Linked DNA regions of Homo sapiens: all the other regions are linked to region 3. The links are contacts of gene promoters, found by promoter capture Hi-C in blood cells and fetal thymus (Javierre and others, 2016). All regions are on one chromosome and are shown on one strand. The core of a region is centred on a gene start or on the middle of the fragment in contact, and the rest is flanking DNA. Distances in the headings are between cores, read along the strand shown. Region 1 has its middle 8.1 kb from the start of KRTAP5-6. Region 2 holds the start of SYT8 (synaptotagmin 8). Region 3 holds the start of TH (tyrosine hydroxylase).

Evidence for each region. Contacts are between HindIII fragments. The CHiCAGO score rates a contact against its expected background, and 5 or more counts as called.
Region 1: a fragment that was not itself captured here is called in contact with the fragment with the promoter of TH in region 3 in 3 of 17 cell types (M1 macrophages, naive B cells and monocytes); the score reaches 6.9 in M1 macrophages.
Region 2: the fragment with the promoter of SYT8 here is called in contact with the fragment with the promoter of TH in region 3 in 1 of 17 cell types (endothelial precursors); the score reaches 5.7 in endothelial precursors.

The regions. Positions count from the first base shown.
Region 1 is chr11:1,703,956-1,706,655 of GRCh38, forward strand. No RefSeq gene overlaps it. Among named protein-coding and RNA genes, the nearest start is that of KRTAP5-6, 8.1 kb to the left of the region's middle. The HindIII fragment of the contact is 231 bases long and covers 1,285-1,515 here.
Region 2 is chr11:1,833,540-1,836,239 of GRCh38, forward strand. It overlaps SYT8 (synaptotagmin 8), which reads left to right and starts at 1,451. Exons shown (of 8, transcript NM_001394072.1): 1 at 1,451-1,660; 2 at 1,757-1,920; 3 at 2,347-2,445; 4 at 2,587-2,700. The coding sequence starts at 1,567. RefSeq lists enhancers at 1-27, 28-641. The HindIII fragment of the contact is 25,919 bases long and covers 1-2,700 here.
Region 3 is chr11:2,170,538-2,173,237 of GRCh38, forward strand. It overlaps TH (tyrosine hydroxylase), which reads right to left and starts at 1,278. Exons shown (of 13, transcript NM_000360.4): 1 at 1,160-1,278. The coding sequence starts at 1,249. It overlaps MIR4686 (microRNA 4686), which reads left to right and starts at 2,526; the gene lies at 2,526-2,601. The HindIII fragment of the contact is 9,589 bases long and covers 1-2,700 here.

The sequences.
Region 1 (2,700 bases), core at 150-2,649, 470 kb before region 3:
GAGTTCATGTCCTTTGTAGGGACATGGATGAAACTGAAAACCATCATTCTCAGCAAACTATCGCAAGGACAGAAAACCAAACACCACATGTTCTCACTCATAGGTGGGAACTGAACAATGAGAACACTTGGACACAGGAAGGGGAACATCACACACTGGGGCCTGTCGTGGGGTGGGGGGAGGGGGGAGGGAGAGCATTAGGAGATATACCTAATGTAAATGACGAGTTAACGGGTACAGCACACCAACATGGCACATGTATACATATGTAACAAACCTGCACGTTGTGCACATGTACCCTAGAACTTAAAGTGTAATAAGAAAACATTTAAAAAAGAAAAGAAAATAGAATAGCCAAAACAATTTTGAAACAAGAAATATAGTTGGAAGAATGACATTAGCTGACTTTGAGACATTCCATAAAGCGACAGCAATGTAGACAGTGTGGTATGGGCAGAGGGGTAGACACACAGATCAAGGGAAAAGCACGGAGTTGAGATGTCACTCGCACACACAAGACTGCGCTAATTTATGACAAAGGGGCAAGACAACTAAATGGAGAAGTGTCTGCTGCAATCACAAAATACCTGTGACTGGGTATTTTACAAACAATAGAAGTACATTTCTCACAGTTTTGGAGGCTAGACGTCCCCAGATCAAGGTGCCAGTATTCTGCATCTGGTGGAGGCTCTTTGCTGTGTCCTTTTGGTGGAAAACATAAGGGGCAAAAAGGACCCAAGCTCATCCCCCCCAGCCCTTTAATGAGGCACTAATCTATGCCTGAGAGCAAAGCCCTGACTTGATCACTTCTCAAGAGACCCCACCTCTTAGTAACACCATAACAGGGGTTAAGTTACAGCGCATGAATTTTGGGGAACGCATTCATACCAGCGCGCGAAAGGAGAACCGTTTCCAAAAAATGGCATTGGAACAATTGAACCGCCGTAGACAAAACGAAAACAAAACCTCAACCTCAACCTCATACTTTATATAAAATTAACTCTATGCCCATCATAGACCTAAATGTTGAATATAAAACAATAAAACATTTGGAATAAAACAGGAGAAAGTCTTAGTGACCTTGAATAATAAAAACACACTGTGTAAGAAATAATAATGTGAGTGAAATTCAGTGTCCTTTAAAGATAAAAGGTCACGTCATAAGGAGAGAGACACACTTGGCAGTGCTCCTGGTTGCTGGTGGAGGACCAAGTGAGTCCTTATTTAGAAGGGACATTTTTTTTTTCTGTGCCATTTTCTTCATCGAACATTTAGTCCTTTGAAAGCTTGTGATTATCTTATGTTCAAATGCTATGAAATAATAAAGTCACAGGGCAGTCCCACTGCAGCGTGACAATGAGGGGGAACTCCAGAGATCCACTTCCATGTGAAACTGGTGAAGACTTTAAAAACAAAAACAAACGAAACCCCACCCCCAACAACCATTTAAAGCATCTGCAAATGGCCCTGTAGCCATTTCAAATAGAGAAACATTTATTCAAGAAAATCGACTAAAGCTTAGTGAGAACTGTGTGAGTCTGTGGTATCTGAGCCAATGCGTGTGCCCTCTCCCAGCCCAGTGAGACAGAAGCTCCACTCCAGGCTGTACAGCCAGGAATGCAAGACTATCTCTCCTCCAGTTTCTGTAATTGCCCGACAGGCTCTTCCCGCCCGCTGCACAGACAAAACCAGTTCACTCTGAGAACATGGTATTGCAGTAAATGAAATGTTTAATTAACGCAAGGCCTGCCAGGTGGAAGAACTGGAATGATCACTCAAACCCGTCTCCCTGAAGGCTTGAAGGTTAGGGTTTTTCCAGGACAGTGTGGTGGGTGGGGGGCTGGGGAATGGGTGCTCCTCATTGGTTGCGGGGGCAATCACAGGGGTGTGGAAAATGGTCCTTGTGCCCTGAATCTGCCTCTGGGTGGATAACAACCCCAAAGTGAAAGCAACCCAGACATCCTTCAACGGGTGAACGGTTAAACAAGTCGTGAGTCACGAGTCTGCATGGGGTCAGTTGGAAAACCACCTCAAAAGACCAATCTTAATTCTACCACAGTGATATTATCTATAGGAGCAACTGGGGAAGCCACAAATCTTGTGATCTCTGGACAAATGACTCCTAAGCAGAGGGGGATTATAGAAACTATGCCTATATTTTAGCAGAACTCATGCCCTCCTGTAATTCTAATCTTGTGGTCTTTCATTAGTCCTATAAAGGCAGTTTCAGCTCCCCAAAAAGGAGGGGATTTGTTTTAGGGCGGGACCGTTATCATCCTTGCTTACAAGTTAAACTATAAACTAAATTCCTCCCATGGATATAATAGAGGCAGGAGGCAGACAAATCCCAGGCAGATGGGGGTGGGTCCCCAGTGAAACCTCACCTTCAAGCCAAAACATCCTGAAACCTGCAGCCCAGAGTGAAAACTTCTATTCTTGTTTGCCTGCTCGCTCCGGATTGGTTCATTTTGAATAATGCCTTTTTAACCAATCAAATACTGCCTTTTCCAATACTACCTATGGCCTGGCCTGCCCCCGTCCTGGGCCTATAAAGACTCCAGACTCAGTTGGTAGAGAGAGAGAGAAGGCCTGACTTCAAGGAAGAGATCTCCTGACTTTGGGGAAGACGACCTGCCCTCCCTGTCCCCTTTCCAGTTCCCCTCTCTGCTGAGAGCTGTTTTCATTGCTCAGTAAAAGTCT
Region 2 (2,700 bases), core at 201-2,700, 340 kb before region 3:
CCCCTGTGTTCTGGGGACAGGCTGGGCTTCCCAGGCCATGCTGGCCTCCAGAGCCACAAAACTAGAGCTCCCAGCCTCGGTCCACTCGTCTGTAAAACACCTGGCCTGCTGACCTCACAGGGTCAACATGCGTGTGGGGCTGGAACCTGGACCCTCCCTCCCCTCCTTGAGCTGCAGCCCCCTCATCTGAACACTGGGGGTTTGGGTCCGTTCTGGGAGTGCAGCTGCCTCTCCCAGCCTGCCAGGGAGTGGGGCATTGATGCTGTGTGCGCGTGCGTGTGTGTGTGTGTGTGTGTGTGTGTGTGTGTGTGTGTGTGTGTGTGTCTGGAGTCATGGCAGGGTCCCTTTCTGTCTGTCTCCTTGCTCTGCCCCAGACTGGGGGGCTGCAGAGGTGAGGGTATCTGGCCTCAACAGCTGCTTATTCCCGATGGGATGGCCTGGGCTGGGCCCCTGAGGCCAGGCTGACTTGGACATGGCAAGAGGGGTCCCAGGCTCTTGTGGGCAAAGCAGGGGAGGCGCCAATGTGGAGGAACAGAGTCTCCTGGCTGGCTGCTGCTCTCTGGAGCGGGTGGAGTCAGGGAAGAGCTGAGCTGGGGAGTCACCCTGGGCCTGGGGTCACCGTAGGCCCCATGTAGCACCCTGGTTCCCCTGCCTGTAGGTGACAGGAGCCAGCCCAGCCAGGTGTGCTCCCTCCCCAGGCCCTAGGCAGGCGGGTACAGGGGCCAGCAGCTGCGCCCGCCCCACCTTCCTTCCCACCCACATGCCGAAGGGTGGCCAGGCAGGCAGGTGGACGAGTCCAGGCAGCGGCTGAGTCAGTGTGTGTGGAATGTTCTGGCCGCTCCCAGCTGCACCCTGCCCCTACCTGCCACCACCTCACCTTCATCCTCAGGCGCTGCGGCCCTGAGCCCCTGCCAGGAATGCACCTTTAGCCCAGGCCTGCTCAGTGAGCTCCGCCGACAGCCAGCCCTGCTCCTCCCGCCATGACCCTGCAGACCCCTCTGGGCTTCCAAGTTCCTGGGGGCTGCAGTGAACATGCTCCACCTGCATGGCTGGCAAACCATGGTGGGCCCCAGCTGTGGTGCGTGCTGGGGTAGAGGCAAGGAAGTGATGGGACCGCAGAGATGAGACCCCCAGGGATGAGATGGGACCCCCAGGCAGGGCCCAGGGTCCAGGGCCCAGGAGAGAGAAGCAGGGAGGGAGAGAGCTTCCTGGTGGAGGACGCATCCTACAGTGGGGGCAAGGGTGCTCTGAGGTCCGGTGAAGGCAGGGACTAGGCTGCCCAGGCCCTGCCTGCTTGGCTGGGGCTGGGGGCTGCTGGGAGGTGGCTGGGAGGCTGGGCCTGGGCAGCTAAGCTGGAGCTTTGGCCAGGGTCCAGAGCCTCCCTCCCTTCAGCTTCCTGCTGCACAGAACCCTCGCCCCTGGCCACCCCGTGCTGCCTCCTTGCCCTGGCAGACCCAGCACTGGCTGCTGCTAGTCAGATGGGGTAGCGGGCAGGGGCCGGAGGGGCCACCCTCCCAGCTGACCCAGCCTCCTGGGCCGCTTCTTCCAAACCAGCAGGGTAGAAAGATGGGGCACCCACCAGTCTCTCCCAGTGCCCCGGCCCCAGCTGGCACCACAGCTATACCTGGGCTTATTCCAGACCTTGTCGCCGGGACCCCCTGTGAGTTGTGGGATTCCCAAGAGGGGTGTGGGGATAACCCAGCCAAGTGGGGGCTGCAGCTGTCCACAGATGCACTCAGCCTGGCCTCTACCCCAGGGCCCCGCTGGGCTCTCATTGCCGGCGCCCTTGCCGCGGGCGTCCTCCTCGTCTCCTGCCTCCTCTGTGCTGCCTGCTGCTGCTGCCGCCGCCACAGGAAGAAGCCCAGGGACAAGGAGTCCGTGGGTCTGGGCAGTGCCCGCGGCACCACCACCACCCACCTGGTGAGGAGCGGCTCCTTGCTCACTCAGTCCAGAGAGGGCTTGAAATCCAGGCTCCAGAGCCCAGGGCAGCGAGGCGAGTTCAGCCCCAGGGATGGTTTAACCCCCACAGAGGCAGGGCGTTGAGGACCTTCCTGGCAGGGAAAGTGGGTGAACAGAGGTGAGAAGGAGGCCATGCAACAGGGGCTGCCCCATGGGCCCGAGGGAGCCACAGCGGGTTCTTGAGGAAGGCAGGGGGTACCCCAGATGCCACGTTTTGGGTGGGTTTGGCCGGTCTCACAGAGCGAAGCCGACGATTTGTGCCTGTTGGGTGGCCTGGCCTGGAGGCGGGGGGTCTTGACCCATGTCATGCAAGGGCTGCCCGGGAGCCCAGGGCTCTGATGAGGCATGATGTCAGCACCACCTGCCCCTTGTCCCAACTCACTCCAGGTGCAACCTGATGTGGATGGCCTGGAGTCCAGCCCGGGGGATGCTCAGCAATGGGGGTGCCTGCAGCTCTCCCTGGAGTTCGACTTTGGAAGCCAGGAGGTGAAGGGCCCCGCTGCGCAGGACCAGCGGTTCTGCGAGTTTCCGGAAAGGGTGACGGGGGAAGGGCAGACCCCATGCCCTGGGTGGTGGGGAGCTGACAGGGCAGGGGCCCTTGGCTGAGCCCACCCCGCTGGCTCCCAGATCAGGGTGGGCCTGAGGCAGGCAGCCGACCTGAGGCCTGGGGGCACCGTGGACCCCTATGCCCGGGTCAGCGTCTCCACCCAGGCCGGACACAGACATGAGACAAAAGTGCAC
Region 3 (2,700 bases), core at 28-2,527:
GGCAGACACCTGGGGCTCATCCCTTGGAGCTGAACTCCCAAGAAGGCTCTGGGCCCCTTGTAAGAGAAGAATCAGCTTCATCCTGAGCTTCCAGGGTTGTGGAACATGAAGGGGAGCAGCAGAAGCCCCTCCCAGAGTCCCCTCTTACTTACCCTTGGGGTGGGGGTGTAGGATGCAGCTGGGGCTGCAGTTCCAGGCCACGGAGAGCCTGTGAGGCTGGGCCCCGGGGCGCCCTGGGGAGGGGATGCCTGATGGGGAGCCTGGTGGGGGAGGGTAGGGGAGGGCGGGGGAGGACGGGGGAGGGCGCCCTGTGTCCCTGAGAAGGTACCTGGAAATGACACTGCTACAACTCACACCACATTTCAATCAAGGTCCATAAATAAAAACCCATTTTAAATGTGCCAGGGAGCCCAAGGTTCTGAGTGCCCAAGGAGGCACCGAAGACCCCTCCTGTGGGCTGAAAAGCTCCCGATTATCCAGCCTGGCCCACACAGTCCCCTGTACACAGGGCTTCCGAGTGCAGGTCACAGGGAACACAGACTCCATGGTGAATGAATGAATGAATGAATGAATGAATGAGGGAAATAAGGGAGGAACAGGCCAATGGGAATCACCCCAGAGCCCAGATACCCTTTGAATTTTGCCCCCTATTTGCCCAGGACCCCCCACCATGAGCTGCTGCTAGAGCCTGGGAAGGGCCTTGGGGCTGCCTCCCCAAGCAGGCAGGCTGGTTGGGGTGCTGACTAGGGCAGCTGGGGCAGAGGGAGGCAGGGGCAGGTGGGAGTAGGGTGGGGGCTGGGTGCAGCAGCCGGGGACCTCTGGCCATCTTGGATTTTTTGGATGGATTTGTTTCCACATTCCGATCGTTAAGATTCAAGATGAAACAAGACACAGAGACCCACACGACCCCCGAGAGAGGTCGGCCTAAGAGGGGCACACACAGGGACAGGCATCACCTCACCCTCCCCCAACAGGGACTCAAACACCAGGCACAGGGGATGCCGCTGTGCCCAGGCCTCCACATCCACGCCGCGTCCCAGGGGTTTGCATGGACCCTGAGCCTGGGGCTGCCAGCCAGGCTGGGGAGTAGCAGAGGCAGCTGGCACCAGCCCTGGGCTCCGGTCCACTGCGGCCGCCGGGCACCTACCTGCCCTCTTACCATGATGGCCTCTGCCTGCTTGGCGTCCAGCTCAGACACGGCCCTGCGGAAGCCCTTGGCCTGTGGCGTGGTGGCGTCGGGGGTGGGCATGGCTCAGTGTGGAGGTCCGGGCTCCGTCTCCACAGCCCTGGCCCAGCAGCCTCTTATAAGCTGAGCTGACGTCAAAGCCCCCTCTGGGTCCCCCACCTTCCCCTCCTTACATCCCCCACCCCTGCCTGCTGTGCCTGATGGAGGCGGGGGTGGGTGAGGAAGGAGGGAGGCGCAGGAGAAAGGGCTCGTCCGTGGAATCTAATTGCCTTCACTCCCCAGCCCTGTCTGAATCATCCTCAGCCCGCGGGCTTGCGGGGACCAGGGGCTCGTGCTCTGCGGGGGGCTGAGACAGCCAGGGTCCCCTTGGCCCCACAGCCCTCAAGAGAGCACACAGGGAGGGGCTTTCTGGCAGCCCAGGGGCACACTTTTAATGAACACCAGAACCTCGTGGCAGACCGACCCAGAAAGCCCCAAGACGGGGAATCCAGCCTCCAGCCTCAGATGTCAGGAGGCAATTTGTTTGCTTCTCCAGAAGATTCCAGGCCGTGTGTCTCATAGACGTGGTTCCTAGGAGTGCCATCTGCCCACAGCCCCCGGGCCCTGCAGGTGTGGCCCTTGCAGCGGCTTCCCAAGCTCGCCCCGTGGGGTCCAGAATGTCCCAGGAGGGCCCACCTGTCCAGTGTGGAGGACCCTGGGAGGCTGAAGAAGACATCTCTAAGGAGACGCCACGCGTTTCCAAATGGCTGCCACCTCCTGCATCACAGTCCCCACCAGGGTTGCCAGGGCGACCAGGGCCAGGGACGGCTTCCACCCACCCCACTCAGCCCCTCTATGGCCCACTGCTAGCTCCTGGCTTCCCTCGGGGTCCTGTGGCCCCTTCTTTAAAGAGCACGCACGTCCCTCAGTGCTGAGGGCCCTGATGCCTTCCCCTTGGAGAGACCTTTGCAGTTTCTCCTCTACCCCACCAGGCCCCGGGTTGAGGGTGACCCTGGGGTGACCTGAGAACTCCCTTGAGGACAACCCCAGCCTAGAGCCTCCCCCAAGTTCCATGTCCGCCCCGCAGGCACCCGCATCCAGCCCACGCCCACTGGCACCTCCTGCTCCCAGCCGCTGCCCCACCCAGGGAGAGTGATGCCCCTGCCCAGGGTGGCTTCTGGCCCTTCTGGTGGAAGGGGAGGCCTCCCCATCCCTCTGGGGTCAGCAGAGATGGCCAGAGCCTGCCTTGACAATGCTGGACTGTACAGAGGGAAGGACGTGGCCCCAGAGTGCATGGCCTGCGGCTGAACGCTGCCACCGCTGTCCCTCCTGGAGAAGAACCGTTTCCGACAGGGCTTGGGGCTTCCTGTATCTGCTGGGCTTTCTGGTGTTGGCAGCCCAAGATGACACCCTGGGCCCAGCAGGAGCCAGAAGCCCTAGACGCTCCCTGACTTCTCGAAGGCCTACCCCGGCTGGTCACTGTGGCAGCCAGAGCTGGCATCTCTCAGGGCCCACTCTGCTCCTGTCAGCTGTGG